Linked DNA regions of Homo sapiens: region 2 is linked to region 1. The links are contacts of gene promoters, found by promoter capture Hi-C in blood cells and fetal thymus (Javierre and others, 2016). All regions are on one chromosome and are shown on one strand. The core of a region is centred on a gene start or on the middle of the fragment in contact, and the rest is flanking DNA. Distances in the headings are between cores, read along the strand shown.

What was found. The method cuts DNA at HindIII sites, captures the fragments that hold promoters and counts their contacts. A CHiCAGO score of 5 or more calls a contact.
Region 2: a contact is called between a fragment that was not itself captured here and the fragment with the promoter of NEPRO-AS1 in region 1, in 3 of 17 cell types (non-activated CD4 T cells, activated CD4 T cells and total B cells). The highest score is 6.0, in non-activated CD4 T cells.

Annotation. Positions count from the first base shown.
Region 1 is chr3:113,017,734-113,021,578 of GRCh38, reverse strand. It overlaps NEPRO-AS1 (NEPRO antisense RNA 1), which reads right to left and starts at 2,061. Exons shown (of 3, transcript NR_186663.1): 1 at 1,873-2,061. It overlaps RMP64 (ribonuclease MRP subunit p64), which reads left to right and starts at 1,908. Exons shown (of 9, transcript NM_015412.4): 1 at 1,908-2,037. The coding sequence starts at 1,932. RefSeq lists a silencer at 2,120-2,229 and an enhancer at 2,390-2,459. The HindIII fragment of the contact is 8,907 bases long and covers 1-3,071 here.
Region 2 is chr3:112,736,360-112,740,679 of GRCh38, reverse strand. LINC02042 (long intergenic non-protein coding RNA 2042) reads left to right here. Exons shown (of 5, transcript NR_110017.1): 3 at 1-986; 4 at 1,855-2,002; 5 at 3,984-4,231. It overlaps MIR9900 (microRNA 9900), which reads right to left and starts at 3,591; the gene lies at 3,499-3,591. The HindIII fragment of the contact is 7,250 bases long and covers 1-4,320 here.

The sequences.
Region 1 (3,845 bases), core at 812-3,311:
GGAGATAACTTCAGGGTCATAAGAATAGTTTGCAGAAGGAATGAATTCCTGGAAGGACATTGCAACCAGCTGCCATGTACATACGGCTGCACAAGGTGTTACCTGAAATGGAAGAAACACAGACTTTTCCCTTGGATTCCTTGAAACTCCCTCTCCATTACTCTCTAGCTCCATAAAAACTCCCTGCTTCTTTTTTGTTACTGTGGATCTGAGAGATCTTGCTCTCTTGCCCTCTAACTTTGGTCAAATCGAATAAATATTTCTCTGTCTCCAAGCACCAGTATCTCAATATTTGGCATCAGCTGCCCATCGGGTACATGAGCCTGAATTTGGAGTTCTAAAACAGATGTGATTAAGTTAAAGATTCTGAGATGGAGTGACTATCCTGATTATCTTGATGGGCTCAATGTAATCACAAGGGTGTTTTTAAGAGGGAGGCAGGCAGGAGGGTGAGAGAGACAGAGGAAGAGGAGGAGACTGAAAAATGTCATGCTGACAATGAAGGTGGAGGATAGTGAAATGAGCCAAGGAATGAAGGCAGCCTCTAGAAGCTGGAAAAGGAAAGGAAATGAATTCTTCCCTAGAGATTCCGGAAGGAACCAGCCCTGCCAACTTCAGTCCATTGAAATTAATTTTGGACTTCTGACCTCCAGAAATGTAAAATAACTTCTACTTATTTCAAGCCATTAGGTTTGTCGTAATTGGTTACAGCAGCAATAGAAAACTAATACATAGGCCAACATAGGGCACTGTGGTAACACATTAAAGGGGCCTCTGTATCAAGTTATGGAGTGAGGACGGGGTGTTTAGGAAGAATTACCCCAAGTGACGACCCCAGAGCTGAGGAAAGGAGATTGTGTTTCCGAGGATGACCCAGGTAGAGTAGGTAGATGTGTAAAGGCGCACAGAAAGAGCATGGAAAGTGTTTCAATAAAGTAAGACTGCTTGCATGAAATAGTAGTAATAACATCAACAATATTAACTATGGTAAATGTTCATTGTTTGTATGCCAGGAGTGCCTTGGCATTTTACAAGTCTGTGAGATTGATACTATTATTATCATCTTCATTTTACCCACAGGGATACTAAGGTCTGGAGGAGGAGGTAAGTAAATTTCCTGAGATCACCGAGCTAGTAAACAGCAAAGCTAGAACTAGAACCTTGGCAGTCTGTTTCCAAAACTCACTGTTTTTCTAATACGTTACTGTGGGAGTGTTAAGAACTTAAGGGGGCATTAGCATGGCTGAGGATAAATGAATTATTAGAAAGATATTAATGAGGTAAGGATCACTAGAGCTTGGAATATGATCTTGTCTTGGAGACTGACAAAAGTGGGAATGACTGACAGGTGTCTTCCAAGTTTCTTTGATGTGATCTCGGTTTTGCTGTGGTTCAAGACATAAAGGAGCCTTCCTTTACCACTCAAAGCAAATCACTGCTTCTTCGCTACAAATTCCACACCTTGCACAAACCTCTTCATTTCATTTCTTCCTTTTTCCCCTAATGTCTGAGGCAGAGTTGGGGGTAAAAGCACCAACTCAATTCTGGGCCTCATTTTCCATATTTGTAAAATGCCTAGAAGTATTTAACAGTTCCAAACTTGGTTGTGCTTCCGAATCCCCTGCGCTAAGTTTAAACAAAACGCAGATTCCTCATCGCATTCTCAGAGATTCTGTTGGTTAGTATTGGGATGGGGCCTTTTTTCCCCCATGATTCTACGCGGCCACGTGTTGGTAACCAATATACAGATGACTGGGTCCTTCCCAGTCCCACGCGTTTACTCGATGAAGGCAGCCTCCCGCCGGGCTCCTGGCCCCGCCCGAGCCCCACCCCCTGCTCCCTTCCGGCCCGGACTGGGTCCCATCGCCCCACCTCCGGTCGCTGGACGTGCTCTCGCGTAGCTCCGCCTTTCGTAAGTCCCCCCGCCTCGCATGATGGCTGCGGTGCCGCCGGGCCTGGAGCCGTGGAACCGTGTGAGAATCCCTAAGGCGGGGAACCGCAGCGCAGTGACAGTGCAGAACCCCGGCGCGGCCCTTGGTGAGTGAGGCGCCGGGCGAGGATGGGGGAACGTTTCCGGGGGAGGCCGCCAGGCCCAGCCGGCGCATGTGGGCGGGGGTGGTACCGGGACTTCCCGGCCCGGGGGACGCTGGGAAGGGGCGCGGGGCACGTAGGGGTCGAGCGGTCCCAGCACTTTGCTGGTGTAGCTTGTAGGGCCTCTGGCTTCGCATTCCTTCATTGAACCAGCTGTGCTAACCCAGGGCTTGGCTGGAGAGATGAAAGACCAAGGCTCAGCCGTGCGCTGAGGGGGCGGAGAGAGGTGGACTCAGCTGGTGCCGGGGAACAGTGCTGCCTGGGAACCCTTGCTCACCCGGGTCTTCGGAGTCTTGTTTACCCTTCCGTCCATTTCCCCTTTCCTTCTTTTTCCTGTACCCGAGGAGCGGTGGACGTCACCTAAGCACTGGGACTCAAACTGCAATCTTTTCGGACCTCTATCTGCTTATCTGTGAAATGGAGTTAGTCCTCCTACTCCTCACAGGGGCGTTGGGAATATCTAATGATGTAATTTAGGAGACAGTGCGCTGTAAACGACGGTGTTTTGCCACCTAAATGGGTGGTATTTGTTAGGGTGAAGGGCATATAGTAGGTAGGAGCCTGGCGCAGGAGCCAGGTTGTTTGGGTTTGAATACTAGCTCTACCCTTTGCTGGAGCTTGAAGGAGTCATTGAACCTTTCTGTGCCTCACTGATCTCACTTTCAAATGGAGATAAAAGCACCTTCCTCATAGGGCTGTTTGGGGGGATGAAAGAGTTGATAATGTAGAGAAAGCATTTGGAACACTGCCTGGCATGGTAAATGAACACTCAAATGGAAGCTGTTATGAATATTAAATACGTAGCTCCGGGGCCCAAGGGAGAGAATACAGTCATGGGTTCTTTGTTTCCGGTTGGGCTGGTAAAGCCCTTTCCTCATCCCTCTTTTCACTAGAGACAAACTAAAAACCATGGCTTTAAGCTGCAAAAAGCCTAAAACAAAACAGAACAGAACAACAAAATAAGGCGGGTTGGACAAGCTTGACTTAGATCATCACATCCCCTTTCCCATATATCCATCCTACACACTTTACAGATTATCCCATCTATCCTTCCTACACACTTTACAGATTAATCTTCCCTCTTTCTCTATTCAAAAATTCTTTAACAACTCCTATTAGGCCTGGGAAATTCACCAACTCACTACCCATCCCCGAGGCAGCCCATTCTGTCTTCAGGTAGTTGTTGGGACAGTAAGAAAATTCTTGTTAGGTAGCAACCAGCCTTTACTTCCATTTAGAATGCTAGTGCTGCCTTTAGAGCCATAAATAACACATGAACTACATCTTAGGGACTTCTACAGATTTTCAGACTAGGAAGCATCTGCTGATGAGCACCCGGTGTTCATCAAATAATACGATTTCCAGTTACTGTGGTGGTTTTTCTTTTCTGAATATGTTTGTGTCTCTCATAAAGTGATATCCAAACACAGAAGCCTTGATTTTGAAGACTGTGAATTTATTCATTCTGTCTTGCTTTCGGGCATAGCGACATGGGGAGTTAGAGAGTTATTACACATGTTGTGACATGTGCCCTACCTTCAAGGTGGGGGTTAAGTGTACACATGAGGCGTAAGTGTACACCAAATGACTGACAGCAAAGTATTCATATGAAAGATTATTAAACCATGATAAAATGCAATGCAAAGATACAGCTTCTTGTTTTACAGATGTTCTCTTAATGATTTCCTGGACTTTATATCATCTGTTACCATTTTCCAACTTCTCTTATACTTAGAATCCTTACGTTCTTACAG
Region 2 (4,320 bases), core at 948-3,447, 280 kb after region 1:
GTGGGTGGATCACCTGAGGTCAGGAGCTTGAGACCAGCCTGGCCAACATGGCAAAACCCCATCTTTACTAAAAATACAAAAATCAGCTGGGTGTGGTGGTGGGTGGCTGTAATCCCAGCTATTCAGGAGGCTGAGTCAGGAGAATCCCTTGAACCCAGGAGGCAGATGTTGCAGTGAGCCGAGATGGCACCACTGCACTCCAGCCTGAGTGACAGAGTGATACTCTGTCTCAAAAAGAAAAAAAGAAAAAGAGAAATCTATGGGTGAAGACAAATGGAATGGCAATACCTTGGAGTAGCATTTACTAATTCAAGCCATATAAACCATACTAAGGTTGTCAGCCCAGAGGGGAGTCCATCTGCTATGTAGATGAGAGAATGCGACCAGGAAAGTCAGGACACAAAGCCATGATTCTTTCAACTTTTTGGCACTTTAATAAGTGAATTGCATGTCCTGTCTTCTCCATGAACTCAGCAAAGCTACAACTAAGCTCCTCATCTTGAGAGTTCACCATGTGCCCACTTTGACCTATGGATGGGCCCCTTGGCACTCTACCTTTTCAGTGTCCTCAACTGCACAAACTTCCTGGGCTGCACTGACTGCTGTACCCAGGCAATTTTTTGGGAGCTCCAATGTCTTGTCTAGCACATGACATGAGGCTGTAGCATGTTCTTTCAAGTATTAGTGCTAAAGAGGTCCCATTCTACTTTCTCTGACTGATCAGGTCACTGTTTTCAGCTACCTGGCCCTTCTAAGTCAGGGTCACTAGAGTATTGGGAGGTTTGTAACTTCTTCATTGGTGTCTTGTGTTTTCCTGTCTTTGAACTTGAGGAAAGCTGGCCCTGGATGTTCACAACATCAACCAAGCAATGAAAACCACAGCACCCTACAGGAAATTCTGCATTTCTCTCAAAACATGCAAAACACAAAATTGGGTGGAACCACAGAAGGTTATGGATAACTCACTACAGTTTGGACTTTCAAAGGTAAAATGTAATATTTGACTCATGGCTATCACTTCTGGGAGATTTTTCAGGAGAGATATCTATGTTTCTGAAAGTCTGTATGCTTGCCTTTATTTTTTCTAACTTACTATAAATTCTTGTCAGTTCTGGACATTTTGGTTAAACTTGTTTCTACTGTTACTTGTTCATGCTGTCGACTAATAAAAAAGACAGTGTTTTTAAGACTGTGCTTCATGGAGCCCTAGGGGCTTGAAAAAGCATTTCAGGAGCTATTTTGGGGCCAGGGAGAGGCTGAGTGAGTCAGGAACCAGATCATGCTGTTTCTGTCACCAAATACAAACACACACACACAGATACAATATCAAGTATAAAATCAGACACAAACTCCAATAAAAATAATCCCTTGTATATACTATAAATAATATGTATTATATATATGTGTATATATACATATATGTGTATGTATATATCTATATGTATACATGGTATATATACATATATACTATGAGGTTGTATATATACTATGCCTCACATAGTATATACACACATCTATAGCATATATGTGTATATACTCTGTGTGTGTGTGTATATATATATATTTGTTTTTAAACTACGAAACTGTACATAAAACTTTGGAGAAACGAGTTCGTTAATTAAAATGAGTTTGAAAATCTCTGGGTCAACTATCCAAAAATGTGTATATAGTTGAATACAATCCATGAAATCCTAAGTAATATACCAGTAGAGAATAGAATTTGCAAGATTACATTCCTTTTAATCAAGTTCTGTGCACATTAGAAAGAATTTAGTACAGACAAAAAGCCATGCTCATTCATTTAGACATTCATTCTGCTACTATTTACTGACACTTTTTTTGTATGTGTTCCAGGCCCTGGGAAAACTATCCTACTTTTGTGAGATACTATTGTTCTACCTGTAATGCAAGTGAACAGATCTTAATAAGGACAAATAACAATTTTTTAAATGTTTACCATATTTTCTCATTTGTTCCTTTCATCAAGCATCCAACCTGCCAGGTAATTATTATTATCTGCTTGCTTCAAATAAGGAAAGTAAACCTCAGAGAAATTAAGCAATTTTTTCATGGTCAGTCATCCAGTGAATAGCCTTTCAACTCTTTCCTAACCCTCTCCAGTTTGTCAGCTTAGCTGTGGGAGCTCAGACAGGGCACACTCTCTCTGAGCTCAGCTGAATCACATATAAAATACATGTAATATCTTTCCTATCTCATATGGTTGCAAAACTTTAAAAGAGCTAATATGTGATAGTGCTTTTCAAGGCAAAAATCAAGCCATATTATACTGGTACCAGGTGATGAATTATTTTTACTGGACTTTGTGCTTGATTTTTCTACCCTGGGCTTTGCTAATCAGAAGGTCAGAATCAATCATTATACAACTATGGATCAAAAGCAAGGCATGGGCAATTGAAAAGACCACAAGTTAGAACAATGCTTCTCAAAATATCTGGGATTAAAAACCAGCTAGTTCTTTTAAATTCCCAGTTCCTCATGGATGAATACACAAAATATAAACACCTCTTTTTTTGTCATTAGCTTTAAGGGATTTAAAATTATTGCATTCTAAATGCAATTCTCAATTTCGGTATGAATCTTGTCATGAACTGATAAGAAACAGTTGTCAGTAGTCTGTGAACACACTTTCAACACTACTGGGTTAGGATATCCTCAAATTGGTTGAAGTTTGAATTTTCAAAATTCTTTACAGAGTTGTCCTTGAACCTACAAATATGAACCAAAAATCAGCCCCCAAAAAAAGAGAATGGGAGAAGAAAAAAGGTTCTTCACACTCTATATCAGGTTCCCTAGTCTAGAGAAATATAAAGGGGAAATTTTGTCCAAAAGCAGTCATTTCATGATTTATGTAATAGAGATGCTCCAACCAAGGACACCATAAAACCAATTTGTGTAAAGCAGGTTTTATGTATATCCATCAGAAAACTCCTCTAAATGCTTCAACTAAAATTGAGAGGTAGTTGAAGGATTTTGCTTTCTCCTCTATAGAGTGAGAGGTTATATTAATATTCCTTCTAATATTTTGTGCTTTTGCATTGGAAGCTAACTCAGTGCCTGGGTATTAGAACAAACCAGCAGAATTTCTCTGGTAGGAACTTTCTGCCCAGAGACCTCTGTTCTATTGCTTTTCCCTTGCTGTTACTCACAACCGCGTGTAACAATCTCATACCTTAGTTCTCTTCTTTTTTCCTGATATTTAGAATGCCTAGTAGAGCCGCAAATGGCATGTCATATTTTGTCAGGAGATGGCATTGACTAATGTGTGCAGAAAACACCCCTGAGTTAGATACTTTGAGTCATGTACGATGACCAGTTCAGTATTTAACACTTGACAAAGCTCAAAGCTGTTTACATGAAATGTATATTTTTGGCTTCTGGTAGTCTATGCTGCTATTACGGAAGGTTATAGTTAGCAGGTTTAAGAAATATTTTTTTGGGCTTTCTAGAATGAATAATTTGAATGGTACCAGCAGCAATTCTTTGTGAGCTGAAGGCTTGATGCAGTCTCTTAGGACCTGTCCTTTTAGAAGTAAGAGCGGGTTCTTAGAGGCCACATCCTGCCTTTCAGATAGAGATATCAGCTTCTACCAGGAATAGTTCCTTTCATACTACACTTAAGTAGGCAGTGAGAATAATCAGCACGATTGAAACTACCTTTGCAAAATTATGACTGAGACAGCGAAAGAGATCTAACTTAACTGACTCCATCTTGCTTCTAACCTCCATGCTGTCTTTTTCATTCCTGGGCGTAGGACGAACTAACTTTGAGAGAAATTTAGTTTATAGTTTAAAAAAAAAGATGGTAACAGCCCTTTCCCAAAGCAGACCTCCTTCTTGCCTGGGGACTAGACCAATATTAGCCAGAAGGTTAGAAATTACGGTTTAGGAGTCATGCAGCTGGAGGCTATAAGAATCTGACTCCCTAAACTGCTCCTAAGATCAGTGCTTGAGATACTTTGCAGACCCTGCACTTGATGGATCAGCTGGCACCACCCAAATCAATAAACCGGCTCATCTGATCTTGTGGCACCCACCCAAGAACTGACTCAGCACAAGGAGACAGCTTCGACTCCCTGTGATTTCATCCCTGTCAACCAGCACTCCTGGCTCACTGGCTTCCCCCCACCCAACCAAGTTATCCTTAAAAACTCTGCTCCCTGAATGCTCAGGGAGTTTGATTTGAATAATAATAAAACTCCAGTCTCCTGCACAGCCGGCTCTATAAATTACTCTTTCTCTATTGCAATTCCCCTGTCTTGATGAATCGGCTCTGTCTAGGCACCGGGCAAGGTGAACCCC